2 separate regions of the Homo sapiens genome follow, and region 1 is linked to region 2. Evidence: promoter capture Hi-C in 16 types of primary human blood cells and fetal thymus (Javierre and others, 2016). All regions are on one chromosome and are shown on one strand. Each heading gives the region's core, a stretch centred on a gene start or on the middle of the fragment in contact. The rest is flanking DNA. Distances are from core to core; before and after follow the strand shown.

What was found. Contacts are between HindIII fragments. The CHiCAGO score rates a contact against its expected background, and 5 or more counts as called.
Region 1: a contact is called between a fragment that was not itself captured here and the fragment with the promoter of DHRS1 in region 2, in 17 of 17 cell types (naive CD8 T cells, total B cells, total CD8 T cells and 14 more). The highest score is 22.8, in naive CD8 T cells.

What each region holds. Positions count from the first base shown.
Region 1 is chr14:24,219,462-24,224,151 of GRCh38, forward strand. The region is part of intron 1 of NEDD8-MDP1 (NEDD8-MDP1 readthrough); the gene reads right to left. The region is part of intron 1 of NEDD8 (NEDD8 ubiquitin like modifier); the gene reads right to left. Among named protein-coding and RNA genes, the nearest start is that of MDP1, 5.7 kb to the left of the region's middle. The HindIII fragment of the contact is 1,322 bases long and covers 1,613-2,934 here.
Region 2 is chr14:24,296,448-24,301,029 of GRCh38, forward strand. It overlaps DHRS1 (dehydrogenase/reductase 1), which reads right to left and starts at 3,333. Exons shown (of 9, transcript NM_001136050.3): 1 at 3,134-3,333; 2 at 2,510-2,683; 3 at 291-434; 4 at 62-141. The coding sequence starts at 2,659. It overlaps NOP9 (NOP9 nucleolar protein), which reads left to right and starts at 3,403. Exons shown (of 10, transcript NM_174913.3): 1 at 3,403-3,754; 2 at 3,961-4,410. The coding sequence starts at 3,508. RefSeq lists an enhancer at 1,887-2,677. The HindIII fragment of the contact is 3,784 bases long and covers 1-3,474 here.

The DNA of each region.
Region 1 (4,690 bases), core at 1,024-3,523, 78 kb before region 2:
GGCAACACCCTCGCAAAAAAAAAAAAAAAAAAAAAAAAAAGAAAGTAAAAGAAAAAAGAGAAAAGAAGACAAGAAGTCAACATTACATCTCCCATATCTTTCCAGACTTCTACCTAAATCCTAAATTGCAGCTCTTGTCTTCTTCCGTAAGTTAAGGGCTGGTGATATCCAAATACAATAATTATACTGATTATGCAGTCATAAATGTTGTGTCTTCTCCCATCTGTCCTTGCTCTTAATAGCTCTATCTGTATTAGTCTACAGTGATCCAGGCCACAAACACACCATGCTCATTCTAATTTATGGGCATTTCTTTGCTTCCGTTATTTTCCTTGTTGCAATATCCTCCCCTTCTTCTCCAAACTTCAAGACCCCTTAAATGTAAGATCTCCTCCTGGCCGGGCACAGTGGCTCATGCCTGTAATCCCAGCACTTTGGGAAGCTGAGGTGGGTGGATTACCTGAGGTTGGGAGTTCAAGACCAGCCTGGCCAACATGGAGAAAGCCTTCTCTATTAAAAAATACAAAATTAGCCAGGCGTGGTGGCGCATGCCTGTAATCCCAACTACTCAGGAGGCTGAGGCAGGAGAATCTCTTGAACCCAGGAGGCAGAAGTTGCGGTGAGCTGAGATTGTGCCATTGCACTCCAGCAATGTATAAAACCTCCTGTATGATGTGTAGACCTGTTCCCAGTGTACTTTATTAATACTTCCAATATTAATATACCAATTACAGCTAGTTGTTTAAGTGTTAAACTTTCCTAGTGTTTGACACACAAGCAGTCAATGAATATTTTTGAAGGGCTAAATATACTGATGATCATATTATAATCACAGCTAACATTTACTGAAAACTATTTTTTTCCTTTTATTTTTTTAAGAGACAGGGTCTCACTGTATCAAGCAGGCTGGAGTTCAGTGGTGTGATCCTGGCTCACTGCAGCCTTGACCTCCTGGGTTCAAACAACCCTCCCACCTCAGCCTCCTAAGTAGCAAGGACTACAGGGTGTGTGCACCACCACACTCAGCTATTTTTAAGATTTTTTTGTAGAGACGAGTTCTGTGTTGCTCAGGCTGGTTTCAAACTCATGGGCTCAAGTGATCCTCCTGCCTCGGCCTCCCAAAGAGCTGGGATTACAGGCATGAGCCACCTTGCCCAGCCATTGAACACTTTCTAAGGGTCAGTAACTATGATCAGCATCTTACATGCATCACATTTAATCCTCCCAGTATTTATGAGATATGGACTATTACTATTTCCATTTTATAGATGAGAAAAATAAGCCTTAGGTTAAAAACACATCTACGCAATCAAAAGTAGAGATTGGATCCAGATTCCCTGGTCCCAGAGCCTGTGCTTTTATTTCTGTACTCCGTCCTACCTGAGTCTGGCTGGTCTAGTATTGGGACCCAATGTACACTCCTATAGTAGCTCACAAAATAACATATGGTTTCTCCTTATGGTATTCACATAGAACAGCACGAAACAAGAACTCAGAAAATTTCCCAACAAGGAGAATGATTTAGTACTAGTATGTTTCCAAAAATACAAGAACAATTCCTTTGGATTAACCTGTTTGGATATGAAAGAATAAATTACAGCAGTGATTCTCAAGCTTCTACCCTAACCTATGCTGGTCTGTGTGAAAATTTTCAGCAGCCTATGGTAAAATGAGAAAAGCAGTGTTAAAAGTGAAATTTTCATGAAACTAAATATATTCAGGTGTTAATGTCCTTTCAGAGAATGGTGGTGACAATTTGTGGTAACTTTAAAAAGACAAAATAAAAAGTTTGTAATTCTGTGTTGTCCACAAATTATTTCACTTTCTTTTTTTTTTTTTTTGAGACGGGGTCTCAGTCTCACCCGGATGGAGTGCAATGGTGCAATCATGGCTCACCGCAGCCTCGACATACTGGGCTCAGGTGATCCCCACCTCAGCCTCTTGAGTAGCTGGCATCACAGGCGGGCACCACCACGCCTGACTACATTTTGTATTTTTAGTAGAGATGGGGTTTTGCCATGTTGCCCAGGCTGGTCTCGAACTCCTGACCTCAAGTGATCCACCTGCCTCAGCCTCCCATAGTGCTGGGATTATAGGCATGAGCCACCGTGCCTGGCCGATAATACAAATTTTTATTTATTTATTTATTTTGAGATGGAGTTTTACTCTTGCTGCCCAGGCTGGAGTGCAACGGCACAATCTCAGCTCACCCTGCAACCTCTGCCTCCCAGGTTCAAGCAATTCTCCTATCTCAGCCTCCCAAGTAGCTGGGACTACAGGCATGCACCACCACACCTGGCTAATTTTGTATTTTTAGTAGAGAAGGGTTTCTCCATATTGGTCAGGCTGGTCTTGAACTCCCGACCTCAGGTGATCTGCCTGCCTCGGCCTCCCAAAGTGCTGGGATTATAGATGTGGGCCACCGCACCCGACCACAAATTTTTAAAGAGTGAAAAAAGACTCTCAGAGAAGACCTAGAGCTGCTCTCCCAAGAGCAAAATGCTTGGACCTTATATTTTTAAAAAGGATTATTGGTTTGTAAATTCTAAAAGTCTAGAGCTGGCCCTTTGTTTCTGAAATCGACTGTAGAGGCCCATAAATATATCTAGAGAGCAATTTGGCAATATGGTGTCCCAGCAACAATACTTCCAGGAAAATACTCATGACTATGTCCAAAAGTATACCTACAACAATGGTTATTGCAACCTTTTGATACTGTAAAATTAGAAACACAATCTAAATATCAAACAGTTGAGGGTTAAATAAATTATGGTACAATCATAGAAAAAAAATTACAAATCCCTCAAACAATGTTTAGGATAACTATTTGTAATATATTAACAATATGCTGATAATTTAACAAAAAAGTTATAGTATATAGAGTATAATTAAAATTTTGTAAAAACAACACATGCATCTATATGCTCTCCAAAAAGCTTGGAAGGGTATATACAGTATATTAATGCTTTAACTTGAGCAGTGGAATTATGGGTGATTTTAATTACATTATTATGCTTTTCTGTATTTTCCATTTTTTATACCACAAATGTGAATATGCTGTAATGAGAACAAATTATTTAAAAAACAATGTCCTTGATAAGGGTAAGATTTTGTAAAGCAGCACTGCCTTGTAGAAATATAATACAAGCCATACATGCAATTTTTAAATTTACTAGTAGCCATATTGTAAAAGTTCTTTAAGAGGTAAAATTTTAATATTTTTAAACCCAACATAGCCAAAATATTATTCACATGTAATCAATATAAAAATTAATATATTTTATGTTTTTTCTAACCAAATCCTAAAAATCCTGTATTTCATATTTACATCACATGTAGAGATGGGGCTGGGTGCGGTGGCTCACACCTGTAATCCTAGCACTTTAGGAGGCCGAGGGGGCGGATCACGAGGTCAGGAGTTTGAGACCAGCCTGGCCAACACAGTGAAACCCCATCTCTACTAAAAATACAAAGATTAGTTGGGCATGGTGGTGGGCGCCTGTAGTCCCAGCTACTGGGGAGGCTGAGGCAGGAGAATCGCCTGAACCCAGGAGGCGGAGGTTACGGTGAGCTGAGATCATGCCACTGCACTCCAGCCTGGGCAACAGAGCAAGACTGCATTTCAAAAAAAAAAAAAAAAAAAAAAATAGAGATGGTAGGCTGGGCATGGTAGCATATGCCTGTAATCTCAACACTTTGGGAAGGGGATGTGGGAGTACTGCTTGAGGCTTGGAGTTTTGAGACCAGCCTGGGCAACATAGTGAGATCCCCATCTCTACAATAAAATTAGCCAGGCATAGTGGCACAGGCCTGTAGTCCCAGCAACTGGGTACTCAGAAGGCTGAGGCAAGACTGCCCAAGCCCAGGAGTTCAATGCCGTAGTGGGCTGATTGTGCCACTGCACTCCAGCTTGGGTGACAGAGGGAGACCCTATCTCCAAAAAAAACCCAGAAAAACAAAAAAATTCAAATGGTAAATTTTCATCTGAAATACTTGACATATATTTAAGTTTCATAATTTACAATAGAAAAAGTAGATTTATACACCCAACTTGTTCTAAACATACTTAAAAGTTTTTTATATTTATTTATTTATTTATTTATTTGAGATGGAGTCTTGCTCTGTGTCCCAGCCTGGAACACAGTGGAGTAATCATGGCTCACTGCAGCCTCCAACTCCTGGGCTGAAAGTATCATCCCACCTCAGCATTCTGAATAGCTGGGACTACAAGCACACACCACCATGCCTGGCTAATTCTTTTTTGGAAAAAAAAAAAAATTTTTTTTTTTTTTGAGGCAAGGTCTCAGTCTGTCACCCAGACTGGAGTGCTGTGGCATCATCTGGCTCACCACAACCTCCGCCTCCCAGGCTCAAGCAATTCTCCTGCCTCAGCCTCCCAAGTAGCTGGGGTTACAGCCGCGTGTCACTACGCCTGGCTAATTTTTGTATTTTGTATTTTTTATTATTTTTATTTTTATTTTTTTGAGACAGAGTCTCGCTCTGTCGCCCAGGCTGGAGTGCAGTAGCACGATCTCGGCTCACTGCAAGCTCCACCTCCCGGGTTCACGCCATTCTCCTGCCTCAGCCTCCAGAGTAGCTGGGACTACAGGCGCCCGCCACTACGCCCAGGCTAATTTTTTGTATTTTTTAGTAGAGACGGGTTTTCACTGTGTTAGCCAGGATGGTCTCG
Region 2 (4,582 bases), core at 2,083-4,582:
CCTGGCCGTCGAGTTGGCTAAGTGAGTGAGGGAACATGGGTCCTGGCAGTGGAGCACCCACCTGAGTCCGACGTTGTTGATATCATCCCACATGGAGGCAGGGGTTTCCCAGAATGCCTTATTCCTGGTGTTCAGGATCGTCTGGAAGGCACAGGGAGGGTGATGAATGATCTGAAGGTAGGGAGGTGTGAGGGGCTGGGTAATGGAAGGGACAATGAGTGGGGATGAAGATGCAGGGGTCTGAGGGGGAGGTCAGAAATGTGGAGTTGGGAACAAAGTTCAAAGGGTACCTGGACCCCTGCATAAGCATTGTTGACCAGCACATCTAGACGCCCTTGCTGTTCCCGATCCACTTGCTCAAACAGGCTTCGCACTTCACTCTCCTGGCTTGAATCGCACACCACAGGCACACATTGGCCCCCGAGGGATTGTGCCTGGAGTAGGACAGGGGATATGAGCTCACATTCACACATGGGTGTGAGTCATGACAAAACTCCCCAACCAAAGTGGGCTTGAGAACTGAGAAGACAATCAATCCTAGGAGAGCCTGCTGCAGAGGCAACATGGCAGGCAACGCTGCCCTCTGGTGTCTGTTTGAGTAGTTTCAGGAATGATAGGCCTCCCCACCACAGAGCAAGGTGAATTGCAATGTAAGTTTTAATAATCTACAAACATTTACTGAGGCCCACCATGTGCACAGCATTGTACTTTGCAAGTAGAGGGTAAGAACAAGTGAGGCATGGAGTCTGCTCTTGAGAAATGAGTAAGCATCCTTTTCCTTGTTGTGGTCATTTCCATCTCTCATGCCCTTAGCTCCCACCCTACACTACTCACCTAAAACCTCTACTCAGTCCCAGTTGTCTTACCCTCACTCCACCAATGCTCCTGGTTGGTAATTGAAAAAACCAAAGCTATCAGCCATGAATGATTTCTACTTCCTGTTCTGTCTCACTCTCTACAAATGCCCACAAACCTCCAACTTCAGAGGAAGAAGAGTCCTTTATCTAAGAACAATCCTCCTATTCTCCAAATTTATGCTCTGGGTCCCCGCCTATTACCCTCCTTGCCTGAACTACTGCAATGCCTCCCAACGACTCACCTGACCTCCAGTCTGTCTGCCTTAAATTAATTCTTCATAATCCAGCCAGTACGACCTATCTAAAACACAAACCCTGTTCAAAATCTCCTAACTGGATCTCCATCTCTTAGAGGATGAAGCCTGAGTTCTCTATTAGGGTCTTCCAAGACCCACTCTTTCCTCTCCAGCCTCTCACTCACTACTCTTCCCTTGCATTATCTCACACATCTACTCTTTCACACAGCGTCCCTATGCTTATGGAGCTCCCTCTGCTGGAATGCTTTTCCTAACTTCCTTTACCTAATTCTTACCTTTCAAAACTCAGTTCAAGAACCACCTACCTCCTCCAGGACGCTTTCCCAAACCACTTTCCCTAGCCACTCTCCTATGTCATCTGGATGCTCCCCAACACCCCTAGAGTATTCTGTGCATATCTCCCTCTTATAATTTACCATATTCACATTACATTGAAGTGACTGCTTTCTGTACCTGACTTCCTGTTGGAATCTATCTTCATTTTTAATTAAAATTTTTTTTTTTAGAGACAGGGTCTCACTGTCACCAGGCTGGAGTGCAGTGGTGCAATCATAGCTCACTGCAACCTCGAACTCCTGGGCTCAAACGATCCTCCTGCCTCAGCCTCCCAAGTAGATGGTACTACAGGTGCAGGCCACTGTGCCTAGCTAATTATTTAAAAAATATTTTTTGTAGAGACTGGGTCTAGCTATGTTGCCCAGACTGGTCTCCAACTGCTGGCCTCAAGTGATCTTGCTGCCTTGGCCACCCAAAGTGCTGGGACTACAGGCATGAGCCACTGTACTCCACCATGGACTGAATCTTTGAAGAGCAGAAATTAGATTTTATTAGTCTTGGTAACTTCAGTGGTTTACCAATGCCTAGCAAATCATGGATACTCAAATATTTATTTAACTGAAGTCTAGTAAATAAGTAAAAAATGTGCAGTTCAATAAAGTCTTGCCTGAAATAGAGGAAAGCACAGGTCCACAACCCTTTAGTTGCAATTCCAAAATCTCTGCTCTCAAACAAAAAGTTTTTTACTTTTCTTTCTTTTCTTTTTTTTAATACAGTGTCTCGCTGTGTCGTCTAGACTGGAGTGCAGTGGTGTGATCATGGCTCAACTCCTAGGCTCAAGCGATCCTCCTGCCTCAGCCTCCGGAGTAGCTGCTGGGACTGCAGGAACGTGCCACCATGCCTGGCTCAAACACAAAGTTTTTTCATAAAACTCACTTGGCGGCAAAATTCTACCTTACCTGAAGTTATTTACGGGGTTTTTAATTTCCACTTTGAATAAATATTCACATCTTGTTGAGTAGTATTATAGTTTCAGGTAAGGGATTAGGAAAGGAGCTGTTAAGTGGAAGGGCTCTCTCGGGTGGTTTCTGCAACTGTGGTCCCAGAGGAAGCACTCACCTCCTGAGCAACAACGCGAAGGGTGTCCAGATGGCGGCCAGTGATGTAAACTGTGGCGCCTGCTTTGCAGAGCTGCAAGGCAATGCCACGGCCAATACCCCTGGAGGCACCAGTCACCACACACACTTGGCCATTCATGGGAGCTGCCATGACTCACAGGCAAAGGAGGCAGGTCTGTGGAAGCAAAGACTTACTCTGAGGGAAGCCTGGAGACTGTGTGTGTGTTGGGGCGAGGTTGGGGGGTAGGGGAGAACCTCACTAGGGCTAAGAGGAGGAGCCAAGGTAAGAATCCTTTGAGGGGAGAGGAGTCAGAGGCTGACAACTGGGTGCGGGCCTGAGGACAAGGCTGACTGTCTTTTGGGAGGCCCAGAGAGTGAAGAAGGGGCTGAGTGGGACTGTCCAGAGGTGGACAACTACTACAACCCTCTGAGTGTGGCTGCCTGGATATGGGAATCTGGCGCGGCAGCCCCTCGGGGCGCGTCCACGCAGAGTCCTGGGCTATCTGAAGCTCCGGTCCCTGGCCTGACCCAGTCCGGCTGAGCCAGAGGCGCAGCTTCCGGGCCGGGGATGAGCGCGAAGCCTGGAGATCCTAAGCCCTAAGTGGGACGAGCGTGCGCCGCTTACCTGCCACCTGCGCTGCCGCTGAGGTCTGCAGATTGCGGGGCTGCGGTGGAAGTCTGGGTTCTCGCCCAGATTGAGCCGGCGACGTGGAGGCAGTGTTCAAGGATTGATTCTGTAGTAGGACCCGGGGCGATTCTGTGCTGAGGTAGAGGGGCAGAGTCCCAGGCCAAAGTTAGAACCTGCGGATGGGGGCGGAGCGATCTGGGTGACACACCCACCCCGCCCGGCTGGGGCGGCGCGGAACTATGACGTAGTAGCTGCGTCAGGAGCGCGCCCGCGTTTCTAAACTTTGTCTGGATAAGGCGCACGCTTGGCGACGTCGAAGGTCCGTCCGCAGTTAAGGAAGCTTTTGCAGCCGGACAGGTCGCGAAGCACACATGGGGCAGGGTCCGCGCTCTCCACACAAGGTGGGGCGCCGGTTCCCAGCTGGTGGCAAACGGGGGCGCGGGGCCAAGGGGTCGGGGCGCCCCTTACCAGGCCGTAAGCGGCAACCCTGGCCGCCTCCGGATGGGCGCTCGGAGCCGGCTCCAGATTCGCACCCGCACCTGAGCCCGGAAGCTCTGGGATATTTCCGCCGGGCGCTGTCAGCATTGAAAGAGGCTCCCGAGACTGGGGAAGAACGAGGTAGGCAGCAACTTCGGGGTTTAGACCAAGAGCATCAAATCCAGGGCAGGCAAGGAAACTTTCTAGGGTCGGCAGGGCGTGGGGACTTAGTTTCATTTCCCATGTCCTCTTCCTCGGCCTCCGACCCACGACCCTTGGTTAAGCGAGGGTACATAACTGTATTCTCTACTAAGTCTCTTCAAAGTGTGTCTTTCTTCCCTTTTCAGATCTGATGGTGCACAATATAATGAAGGAAGTAGAGACTCAGGCCCTAGCTTTGTCCACGAACAGGACTGGCAGTGAGATGCTGCAGGAACTGTTGGGATTCAGTCCCTTGAAACCGCTTTGTCGCGTGTGGGCTGCTCTGCGCTCTAACTTGCGCACTGTGGCCTGTCACCGATGCGGGGTCCATGTATTACAAAGTGCTTTGCTACAGCTCCCTCGATTGCTGGGGAGTGCTGCAGAGGAGGAGGAGGAGGAGGAGGAGGATGGAAAGGATGGTCCCACGGAGACCCTGGAGGAGCTGGTCCTGGGACTAGCCGCTGAGGTGTGTGATGATTTTCTTGTCTACTGTGGAGACACACATGGCAGCTTCGTGGTCAGAACTCTGCTTCAGGTGTTAGGAGGGACTATTCTGGAGTCTGAGAGAGCCAGGCCCCGTGGTTCCCAATCATCTGGTAAGTATTACAAGAGGAAAGTGGACCTAGGGGGAAGAAGAATTTAGAAAGTTCAGAATGAGACAGTAAACAGAAGAGTAAGTCTTCATGGGGGAGCTTGACCGGGAAGAATTAGCTTGACCTGTCCTAATCTGAACAGGGCTTAGCAAGCCAAAGATTAGTGTGTGCGGAG